Regions from separate parts of the Homo sapiens genome. Here all the other regions are linked to region 2. The links are contacts of gene promoters, found by promoter capture Hi-C in blood cells and fetal thymus (Javierre and others, 2016). All regions are on one chromosome and are shown on one strand. The core of a region is centred on a gene start or on the middle of the fragment in contact, and the rest is flanking DNA. Distances in the headings are between cores, read along the strand shown. Region 1 overlaps CRTAC1 (cartilage acidic protein 1). Region 2 holds the start of SFRP5 (secreted frizzled related protein 5). Region 3 overlaps CRTAC1 (cartilage acidic protein 1).

The links. The method cuts DNA at HindIII sites, captures the fragments that hold promoters and counts their contacts. A CHiCAGO score of 5 or more calls a contact.
Region 1: a contact is called between a fragment that was not itself captured here and the fragment with the promoter of SFRP5 in region 2, in 1 of 17 cell types (M1 macrophages). The highest score is 5.5, in M1 macrophages.
Region 3: a contact is called between a fragment that was not itself captured here and the fragment with the promoter of SFRP5 in region 2, in 2 of 17 cell types (M1 macrophages and M2 macrophages). The highest score is 5.3, in M1 macrophages.

What each region holds. Positions count from the first base shown.
Region 1 is chr10:98,009,185-98,012,992 of GRCh38, reverse strand. CRTAC1 (cartilage acidic protein 1) reads left to right here. Exons shown (of 15, transcript NM_018058.7): 2 at 1,656-1,855. Among named protein-coding and RNA genes, the nearest start is that of CRTAC1, 20 kb to the left of the region's middle. The HindIII fragment of the contact is 4,154 bases long and covers 1-3,346 here.
Region 2 is chr10:97,769,867-97,773,427 of GRCh38, reverse strand. SFRP5 (secreted frizzled related protein 5) reads left to right here and starts at 1,429. Exons shown (of 3, transcript NM_003015.3): 1 at 1,429-2,123. The coding sequence starts at 1,595. The HindIII fragment of the contact is 8,141 bases long and covers 769-3,561 here.
Region 3 is chr10:97,899,079-97,902,793 of GRCh38, reverse strand. CRTAC1 (cartilage acidic protein 1) reads left to right here. Exons shown (of 15, transcript NM_018058.7): 8 at 1,155-1,291. Among named protein-coding and RNA genes, the nearest start is that of MIR3085, 25 kb to the right of the region's middle. The HindIII fragment of the contact is 3,442 bases long and covers 1-3,184 here.

The DNA.
Region 1 (3,808 bases), core at 20-2,519, 240 kb before region 2:
TTATCCAATCAAAGTTCCTGCCAAGTTGCAGAGCTCTTGTAGTGATTCATGATGCATTTGTCTTTAGTGATTAGAAAACCCAGTAGAAGATGCTGTCTCATTCAGACATCTCTGTAATTTGGAATGACCTCAGTTTGGTAGTGCCACACCCCACATGTGCCCTGTGAACACACTACAAGAACCTCCTTCCCAGTTTCTGCCCTGCAATTGGAGCCTTGCCCCTGTGTCACTCCCCAGCCTCTCCAGCAAGGCATTCAGGAGGCTCCTGAATCACGTCTGGCTCTGAAGGCAGTGCCCAGCCCCTTCATTTTGGTCTCTGGGTCCTTGAACAGCAAGCTCATTTGCCGGCAGGAGCATCTGTCTCCATATGGGGAGACAGTCTTCAGATCTTCCTTGCTCTTCCCTTCATTAAGACATCAGCCTCAGTCAGCCTTGCCTTGGCTGCCAGATGCACTGACAAGCCAGCAGGAAAAGTTCCATCTAGAAGAGGTCTGCTACCTTCTGAAGGCAGGAAAGTACCGCTTTGCCTGCTGGGACTAGACCCATGCAGCCTTTGTGGACCTCCTTCCAGCAGAGCCTTTAAAACATTTCATGAGTGCTGATTCTAGGCCTGCAGGTAGAGTCTCAGGGTGGTGCCATCTGCAGCGTTCCAAGTGTCTCCCTTGCTTTCACTCAAGGGGGGTGGAATCCCTCCACCTCCTTGGCCATTTTCATCTGTCTCCTGGGTGTGTGCCACAGGCTCCCATGGCCCCAGGCTACTTGGCAACACCCTGAGTTATGTTAGAGATATAATAATGAATTATACAATGCATTATACATAATTAATTTATAATAAAACACGCACGCAATGGTTTAATTTCTCCAAGTGAATGATGTGCTATCCGCCAGATCCTGCTGGAACGCCTCCCCTAACTGACTGCTTCTTGGTCTGGAGGTGATGGCCAGCTGCCCTAGGGAGGGATGTTGGCATGAGGAACCTGCCAAGTCACATATTCCCCCTGGCTACCTCTGGAGTATGTACCACAGGAGAACAGTCTTTCATTGCATCTATTATTGTTCTAGATCTGGATACTCATGAGGGTCTCACCCAAACTCTGCATTGTTTGAGAGCTGTTAGGTTCTTCATTCGCCCAGTCTTTCTCCCAGAGTATGGGAAATGCCTTTGTATTTATACCTTTCCCTCCCCATCTCCCTCCCTTCCTCCCTCCTTTCCTTCCTTCCACAAATATGAAATAAATGAAGGAAAGAAGTGCCTATTATGTGAACTACCTTTGGCTTGCTGCATATCAGTGAATAAAACAGAGATCCTTGCCCAAGTGGAGCTTACACTCTAGCAGAGGGAGGCACACAATAAATAATAAGTGTAATCATAAGTAAATTATACCAAACATCACACAATGATAGATGCTGTAGAAAAAGAAAAAGCAGAGCAGGCTAAGGGCGATCAGCCATGATGGAGTCAGGTTGCAGTTTCAATGAGGGTGGGGAGGGCAAGGGAGGGGAGGGCAGGGCTTGTGGAAAGCCAGCAGCCTAGGCACTGTCAAGCTCTCCATGAATGGGAGAGAAAGGCACTCTGGGCCTACCCAGGACTTTAATGTTCCGGGATTGCTTTGGTTACAGGTTCTTTCGGTAACATTTGTCACTTTTGGTTTCAGATGTCCAGGATGTTACCGTTCCTGCTGCTGCTCTGGTTTCTGCCCATCACTGAGGGGTCCCAGCGGGCTGAACCCATGTTCACTGCAGTCACCAACTCAGTTCTGCCTCCTGACTATGACAGTAATCCCACCCAGCTCAACTATGGTGTGGCAGTTACTGATGTGGACCATGATGGGGACTTTGAGATCGTCGTGGCGGGGTAAGTGCCTCCCACCCTCAGTGTGACAGATATTAATCAGATTTTGCTGTAATAAGGCTGTGTAACAACTCCAAACCCCAGTGACTTGCAACAACATACGTTCTCACTCATAGGTCTGTGGTTGTCTGTGGCTCAGCTGCAGCTTGGCTGGGCTCAGCTGGGGTTCTGGGGTGCTGTGACCTTGTCTTTTGCTACTGCAGTGGGTCAGGATGGAAGGAAGTTTGGAAGAAGGGTGTTTGATCCACAGGCTTTTCAGGGAGAAAACTGGAATGCTCTGCTTTAAGGCACTGTCTTCTCTTCATATTTAAGCCAACTTGATTATGCAGATATTACTTCTTTACCAGTGGGGCTCTAGGATCTCTATACAGGAAGGGCTTAAGGGTGACAATTATGGTAGAAGGGTATGCTCAAAGCTGCCTTTGCACAGCACTTTACATAAGACTAAGAAAACATTAATTAACCGTTTCAAAGAGGGGGGAAGATGGAAATTAAGAGGGTTAGCTAAACCTCCGCTGAGCATGCCTTGTTGCCCACGGCTCCTTTCTCTCCTGAAAACCAACATTGGGTTGCAAAAAAAGCATAAGACTAGGAATCCAAATAGCCTGAGTTCATGCCCTAAGGTGTAAACGTTCCAGTTTTATGTCCTTGAGTCTCTTACTCACTGACATTCAGAGATATCATCTGTAAAAAGGGGAATAACTGTAATGGCTTGTTGTCTTGAAGCCTTCCTAGGCTATTGTGTGTGACAGTGCATTGTAAATTTCTGCCAATCACCATTGATAATTATTATGCATTGAGGGCCGGGTGCAGTGGCTCACGCCTGTAATCCCAGCACTTTAGGAGGCCGAGATGGGTGAATCACTTGAGGTCAGGAGTTCAAGACCAGCCTGGCCAACATGGTGAAACCCCGTCTCTACTAAAAATACAAAAATTAGCTGGGCATGGTGGCGCGCGCATGTAATCCCAGCTACTCAGGTGGCTGAGGCACAAGAATTGCTTGAACCCAGGAGGCGGAGGTTGCAGTAAGCCGAGACGGCACCACTGCACTCCAGCCTGGGCGACAGAGCAAGACTCCATCTAAAAAAAAAAAAAAAAAGATTGTGCATTGAGCACTAATATGTGCCAGACACTATGCATCATCTTATTTCACATCCCTCATTTTATTTCATCCCCAACAGCACTATGAAGTAAATGTATTGTCATCCACATTGAGAGAAAAGGCAGATGGGGTTCAGAGGCAGTAAGCAACTTGCTCTCTGCTAAGTAAATAGTAAGTAGATAAGTCGGGATCTGAACCCCAAGGCTTCCTAACTCTACAGCTGCCAAACTACACTGTACAAAGTTTCGTTATCACTTCAAAAATCAGTCAATCAATAAAAACACTACAGGGGCCTGTCGACCTCATTCTGGGAGGCCTGAGCTTTTTTGGTAGCACTAAAGTAACTGGCGGGTAACATTATTTGCAGCAGTTGCATGTAACAGTAGAAAGCTTTGACCTTGGAATTGAAAGACCTGGTTTTAATTCTAACCGTAGCCAACCTAGTATCTATAAACCCTATGCAATTTACTTTACACAGACCCACTTTCCTCATCTAAGTAAAATGGGCATATTGAAATCTACTGGCCTGCCTCACGGGGTAGTCATGGCGGTTAGTGGTGATGATGTATAGAAAAGATTGTTTGTAAAGTACAGTTTTTATTTTGTCTATTCATTTCTTCTACACTGCAAAGAGTAGAGTTGCTCAATTCTAGGCCTTCTAGATGTAGATTGGTGTGCTATCCAGAAGCATTTTCTGTGATGATGTAAATGTTCTGTGTTGGTGCTGTCCAGTATGGAATCCACCAGCCACACGTAGCTACTGAGTATGTGAAATGGCTAGTGTGACCAAGGAACTGAATTTTTAAATTTTCTTTTATTTTAATTAAAAATAGCCACATTTGAATTGGACAGTA
Region 2 (3,561 bases), core at 180-2,679:
GACTAAGGGGAGGAGCAGAGGGGGAAAGTGCCCAGTACTCCTGCCTTCCAGCAGAGCCAGCCCCCAGCTCCCCACGCCCTCCTAGGAGACACCTCCCCAAGGTACCCTCCCCACCAAAGACTGGGAGGTCAGGTGTCAGGCTAGGCTCTCAGGAAGGAATTCCCCTCCCTTCAAGCCTCCAGTCCAAATTCCTCTCAAGGGAGAGCCAATGAAAGGCAGGACTCAGACAGGAGAGAAAGACACCAAGCATGGGGCTCCTGAAGGTCCCCTCCCCTCTGATGCTTGCCTGGGTGCCCTGCTCAGACACACCATCAATTCCCCCTCTTCCCACTGTGTTCCCTACCATGGGTTGGAAGTTATCTTACCACAGAGTGGTTAAGCCCTGGCCTTTGTAGCCCAACATCTGGATTCAAATCCTAGCTCCTTCACATATGAGCTGTGTGGCCAAGGGCCAGTTACTCCACTTCTCTGAACTCCCTATCCCCTTGGTCATTAGGCCTACAGACTCAGAATCCAGGCCTCCTGGTTGTTTCTGGGCTCTGACTCTCGAAAAAGACTATCTGGGTTCAAATCCCAGCTCTAATCTGTGCTTAACCTCTCTGCCGCAGGATCTTTATCTGTAAGGTGGGGACAATAATAGTACCTACCCACCATCTAGCCTTATTGTGAGAATTAGCTGAGGGAGTTTATGCAATGTGCTCAGATCAGACTTGGCACACAATTAGCACCCACTAAGTATTGGCTATCATTAGCAATAGCTGATAAGCTTGGAACGTACCTTGCACCGCACCTTGCACCGCACCTTGCACCTTGCACCGTCCCTGGCAGGTAGTAAGAGCTCACTAAATAGAAGCTATGATTACCTTCACCCCCACTAGACTATCCTGGCCCTGGAGGTGGGTTCTGGGTCATATCCATCTTTGATTCCCCAGCAGCCAGCATGGGGCCTGGCACCAAGCTCAATGAAGACCTGCCAGGAGGACCAGAAGATCCAGGGTGTGGGGTGGCACGAGCCTCCCACCAGGGAGAAGAGGAACCGAGGTGTCGGGGAAGAGAAAACAGAGCAGAGGGAGAAAAGCCAAGGCAGAGAGATAAGCAAGTGAAGTGAGTGAGAAAAGGAACAGGAGAGGCTGTGGCGGAGAGAGATAAGGAGGAAGGATGGAGAAGGCGAGGGTCGAGGAAAATGCCCAGGGAGGCAGGGAGCCCTGGGGAGAAACGCTGGGCGAGGCCAGGGCTGCGGCAGGGGAGCCGAGCCGGGAGAGGGGCGCAAGACCTGGCGCTGGGCGGGACGCTCGGGCAGGGTGCGGGAGGGGCTGAGGGCCGCCCCCACTGCCTCCCCGCCTTGGAGCTGGGGCCAGGCGGCCGGAGATTGGCTGGGGCGCACGGCGAGGCCCGGGCTGGAGCCCCGAGGTGGGAGGCGCCAGGATCAGTCGGGGCGCCCGCAGCGCAGGCTGCCACCCACCTGGGCGACCTCCGCGGCGGCGGCGGCGGCGGCTGGGTAGAGTCAGGGCCGGGGGCGCACGCCGGAACACCTGGGCCGCCGGGCACCGAGCGTCGGGGGGCTGCGCGGCGCGCACCTGGAGAGGGCGCAGCCATGCGGGCGGCGGCGGCGGGGGGGGGCGTGCGGACGGCCGCGCTGGCGCTGCTGCTGGGGGCGCTGCACTGGGCGCCGGCGCGCTGCGAGGAGTACGACTACTATGGCTGGCAGGCCGAGCCGCTGCACGGCCGCTCCTACTCCAAGCCGCCGCAGTGCCTTGACATCCCTGCCGACCTGCCGCTCTGCCACACGGTGGGCTACAAGCGCATGCGGCTGCCCAACCTGCTGGAGCACGAGAGCCTGGCCGAAGTGAAGCAGCAGGCGAGCAGCTGGCTGCCGCTGCTGGCCAAGCGCTGCCACTCGGATACGCAGGTCTTCCTGTGCTCGCTCTTTGCGCCCGTCTGTCTCGACCGGCCCATCTACCCGTGCCGCTCGCTGTGCGAGGCCGTGCGCGCCGGCTGCGCGCCGCTCATGGAGGCCTACGGCTTCCCCTGGCCTGAGATGCTGCACTGCCACAAGTTCCCCCTGGACAACGACCTCTGCATCGCCGTGCAGTTCGGGCACCTGCCCGCCACCGCGCCTCCAGGTAGCGCCGCCGCCGCCGTCCCCGCGCGCTCCGACGGCCCTGCAGCTCCCCTAGCACAGCTCTGCGAACCCCCCAAGAGGTGCAGCTCCCCCCCTCCGCCCACACACACACACACACGCTGTCCTAGCTCAGCCCAGCGTCCCCGGAATTATCCCCCGCAGCCTTCCCGCCTTCCCACCTCCCCAGGGAGTGGCAGCATAGTGCCTCCCGGCGGCTCCAGACCTTCCCTCTGGCTCTCGTTCCCTGGAAACCCCTGGCACCCCTCTCAGTACCCATCCAACCAAGCTGCTGAGAATCCCCCAATGCCGTCCCCCCAATCCTGGGACGTCCTGATAAATGCCTTATGACCCCTCTCAGCCCAAGAATGCCTGGGGTCGTTAAACAATGCCTTTCACCTGGATCCCGAGGCACCAAAGCAAGCATCATCCCCACTCCGTGTTGGGACCTTGGGAAGAGAGGAGAGGTGAGGGAAGGGATGTGGAGAAAGACTGGGGACTAAGAATGTTCTGGACTATGATCTGCGTCCCCGTTTTCTGTACCTGGAACCCTAAGATCTCCACCCTCTTCCCCAGTTCCCCTGGCTGGGAGTCATTCGGGTAAGGCTCAGTGCGGAAGGAAGAGCAGATTAGGCTCTGCCCCTGAAGAGAAGCCCTTAGGCAAGTTGCTTGACTTCACTGAGCCTCAGTTTCCCCATCCATAAAATAGGAAGCCATCCCAGGCTCATGAAACCTATGAGGTCCTAAGTCCCTCCTCCCACCCACCCCTCAGTCCCCTGAACCCTAATTTCTCCCTGGTCTCAGCCTCCCCTTTTCTGTGCTGGTCCACATAGCTCTTCCAGGCTGGCTCCATGCCCTCTCCCCCTTCCTCCCCGTCTGCTGTCAGACTTGAGTAACCGCTCTGGGCCTCGGTTCCCTTTTCTCCAAAATAGGAGTAAGGGCTGGGCGCAGTGGTTCACACTTGTAATCCCAGCACTTTGGGAGGCCAAGGTGGGTGAATCACTTGAGGTCAGGAGTTCTAGACCAGCCTGGCCAACATGGTGAAACCCCGTCTCTACTGAAAATACAAAAATTAGCCGAGCGTGGTGGCACACGCCTGTAATCTCAGCTACTCGGGAGGCTGAGACAGAAGAATCGCTTAAACCTGGGAGGCAGAGGTTGCAGTAAGCTGAGATTAGAGAGCCACTGCACTCCAGCCTGGGTGACAGAGCGAGACTACATCTCAAAAATAAAATAGGAATAAGAATCCCTATTTCATAGGCTGAGGATGAGAGGAGATAAAATTTAAAAGACAATGCACATCATGGCTGCAGCCGCCAGGGTCATGGGGCAGTCACTGTGCCCACCTGGCAGTTTTGTCACTGCACAGCCTGTCTGGTGATTGTCAATCACTCTGTGAGCAGGTAGTGATATGATTGCCATCATCCCATCTCCTGATAAGG
Region 3 (3,715 bases), core at 214-2,713, 130 kb before region 2:
CTCATCCCTGTGGCTGCCAAAGAGGGTCTGCAGCAGGAGGCCGAGAGCAGGCCCAAGTCGGGTAGAGGATGCTCCCAGAGACACCACCTGTACCTTTCTCAGCCCTCTCCACGTGGGCCCTGGGACTTAGACATGTCCCCAAGGTCTTTAGGGGAAAAACCCACCTATGATGAGGATATTACGCTCAGAAATAGAAGATTGCCCTTCCCAGCTCTCCTTCTATTTCAGAGGCAGAAACACACCTGGGACCCTTTGCCTGGTCCCCCAAGGCCCTCCCAGTACTTTGGAGTCCCAGCTGGGCTATCCTGGGCCTGGGGTCTCCCCATTAGTCCTGGACAGGTGTAGCTGATACCGCAACCCCCTCAAAGCAAATGTCTCAAAAAATAAAAATAAAAAGACTCCCAAGAAACAACGTAAGGTAGTAGAGGCAGCCAAATCCACAGCTACAGGTAACCTCTTTCACCTTCCCTGAGGCAGGTGGTGGGTAAGGCAGGACAGGCTGCCAGCGAGCTATGTCATGCCCACTCTGTGCCAGGCATTTTACATGCAATCCTCACAACCCAGGCAGCTATTACTATTCCCACATTACTGATGGGGAAGGTGAGATCCAAGGGGGTTAGTAACTTGCCTAAGATCACACAGCTAGTCAGTGGTGGAGCCTGGATTTAGATGCACAGAGATTTCCGGTGCCCACCCAGCTTCTGACTCAGCACAGAGGAGGAAGGGTGCCTAGGAGAAAGGGCACAGAGTCCGGAATCAGAAGCCCTGGCCTCCCCACTCAGTAGCTGTGACATCGCAGTTCCCCTCCTTCTCCAGGACTCAGTTACCTCACCCGTCAAATGGGAAGGCTAATGTCTGTACTGCCTCAAGGGATGGACAGAAGGGATGGACAGGTGTGATCCAGACTAGGGATCGGCTAAGCACTTCACTGGTGTCTAGCACGACTGTTATTCTTCCCTCCTTCTTCTCGTACAAGCAGCCTGAGGTCTGTGTGGTCCTAAAGGCAGCCCCCAGGTCCTTTGCGGGAGGCAGGAGAGGAGCTTTTGGGTTGGACTGTCTCTTATTTTTAATTGCCCCCACACTCCATAGAGGAGAGCTGGCCTCCCGCCCCAGCCCACTCTCCTGCCACTGACCCCCAGCCTTGTTTCCTCCAGGACATCGCCTCACCCAAGTTCTCCATGCCCTCCCCTGTCCGCACGGTCATCACCGCCGACTTTGACAATGACCAGGAGCTGGAGATCTTCTTCAACAACATTGCCTACCGCAGCTCCTCAGCCAACCGCCTCTTCCGGTAGATGCTCCATCCTGGCTCGTGGCTCTTCATCCTTGACAGCTGGTGGGAGGAACGGTCAGGGAGAAGGTTTAAGAATCAGAAGGGGAGGGTTCCCAGGGCCAGGGGGTCAGGCCAAGGTCAACACAGGTCCCCTGATGAAGAAACAGAAAGGAAGGAAGGACGAGGACTGGGCAAGAGGCTGTGGGAATGCAGGGCAAAGCCTGGCCAAGGAGCCGGCCTCTGCTATTGCAGGGAAAGGGAAGGGAAATGTGGCCCAAAGTGTGCCCAGAACCCAAGCGCCACAAGATACAAAGCCACACTACCACAAAAAGGGGCTACAGGGTCCAATCACTACCAGGAAAAGGGGCTACGGGGTCCAATCACTACCAGGAAAAGGGGCTACGGGGTCCAATCACTACCAGGAAAAGGGGCTACGGGGTCCAATCACTACCAGGAAAAGGGGCTACGGGGTCCAATCACTACCAGGAAAAGGGGCTACGGGCTCCAATCACTACCAGGAAAAGGGGCTACAGGGTCCAATCACTACCAGGAAAAGGGGCTACGGGCTCCAATCACTACCAGGAAAAGGGGCTACAGGGTCCAATCACTACCACAGAAAGGGGCTACGGGCTCCAATCACTACCAGGAAAAGGGGCTACGGGGTCCAATCACTACCAGGAAAAGGGGCTACAGGGTCCAATCACTACCAGGAAAAGGGGCTACGGGGTCCAATCACTACCAGGAAAAGGGGCTACGGGCTCCAATCACTACCAGGAAAAGGGGCTACGGGGTCCAATCACTACCAGGAAAAGGGGCTACAGGGTCCAATCACTACCAGGAAAAGGGGCTACAGGGTCCAATCACTACCACAGAAAGGGGCTACGGGCTCCAATCACTACCAGGAAAAGGGGCTACGGGGTCCAATCACTACCAGGAAAAGGGGCTACGGGCTCCAATCACTACCAGGAAAAGAGGCTATGGGGTCCAATCACTACCAGGAAAAGGGGCTACGGGCTCCAATCACTACCAGGAAAAGGGGCTATGGGGTCCAATCACTACCACAGAAAGGGGCTACGGGGTCCAAGTAAATACAGGTTTATTTACTGCAGGACTTCTCAGCGCCTTTAACTTGACCATAAATATTTTAATTTTCCAAAAGATGGATGGAGTATTCCAAATAGGCCAGATCACAGGGCACTTCTTCCACAGATTTTTCTGTTGAGACTGGTGTTCTGCAAACCATCCTTTGGGAAATTCTGGATGACAAGGGTTCCTGGTAGACAAGGAAAAGGGTTTCAGAAATGGAGGGAATGTGCAGGCCTCTGAGCAGTGTGTCTAGGGAGGAAGGGCTGGATTTGCTGCGGCAATATTTCTCCAAGGGGACGTCCAGAGACCATTGGCATCAGAATCACCCAGAGTGCTTAAAGTACAGAATCCCGGGACCTACCCCACAGCCCCTGACTTAGAATCTCAGGGGGTGAGGCCCAGGAATCTGTATTTTAACAAGTACAGTAGGCACCAGGTGATTCTCATCACACTGAAGTTTGAGAACCACTGTTGGGGAACTGAGCTCAGGGTCTCCCCATGAGTCCTGGATAGGTGGAGTCCTGGACAGGCATGTGGCCTGAGATGTCCCTGTTCCTGGCTTAAAACATTCCAATGGGGCTCAGGACCAGGTGGGGAAAGGAGGGTGTGCCAGGGCCTTGGATCCAGGACATGGGCCAGATCACTGGCTCGGCCCCCCAAGACCCCTACCCCATCTCCCGGGAGGGCCCAACTATTTATACTAAAAGGCATGAGTGTGACTAAGCGTGTTTTAAAATATAATTATTAACAAAGCATCAATCCTGACTGGATGTAATCACCCCCTGAAGGCGCTAGATTTACTAATTAGGTGCCTTGCGAAAAGCTTATTCACAACTTCCAGATAAATTGCAGAAGATCAATTGCTAGTTAACAGAGACACTGCTTTCCTTCTCTGGCTAATAAAGTGTCACTCGCCAGGAGGACGAGGCCTGAGCACTGAGGAATCTAGTGCTCCTGTCTCTGTGGCCCGAGAACCTAGTCTCTGTCTGCCTGCCCATCCTGCCCATCCAGCCTGCTTCAAATCTCCCAGCGTCCCCTGCAGCGGGGAGAAAGGGCTGGGTGGAAGGACAAGGCAGGCTGGCCCAGAGCTGTCAATGGACAGAGCAAGTCACCACGTGGCTGCCCAATGGGTTAGTGTGTTTGCCTCCACACAGCAGCAGCAGAAGCCACTTCCCAGGTACGTGGCTGTGCCCCAAGTCCCTGTGGCAGATGGCTGGGTCCTGAGCACGCAGCAGAGAGGACAGCGAGAGGGGCTGCATCTGGGACTGGCACTCAGCTGGCAGCTCTGGAAGTTTAACCCCCAACTGTCCCACACCACGGGGGCTTTTCACCTGTCACTGAACAGGCACTGTGGGC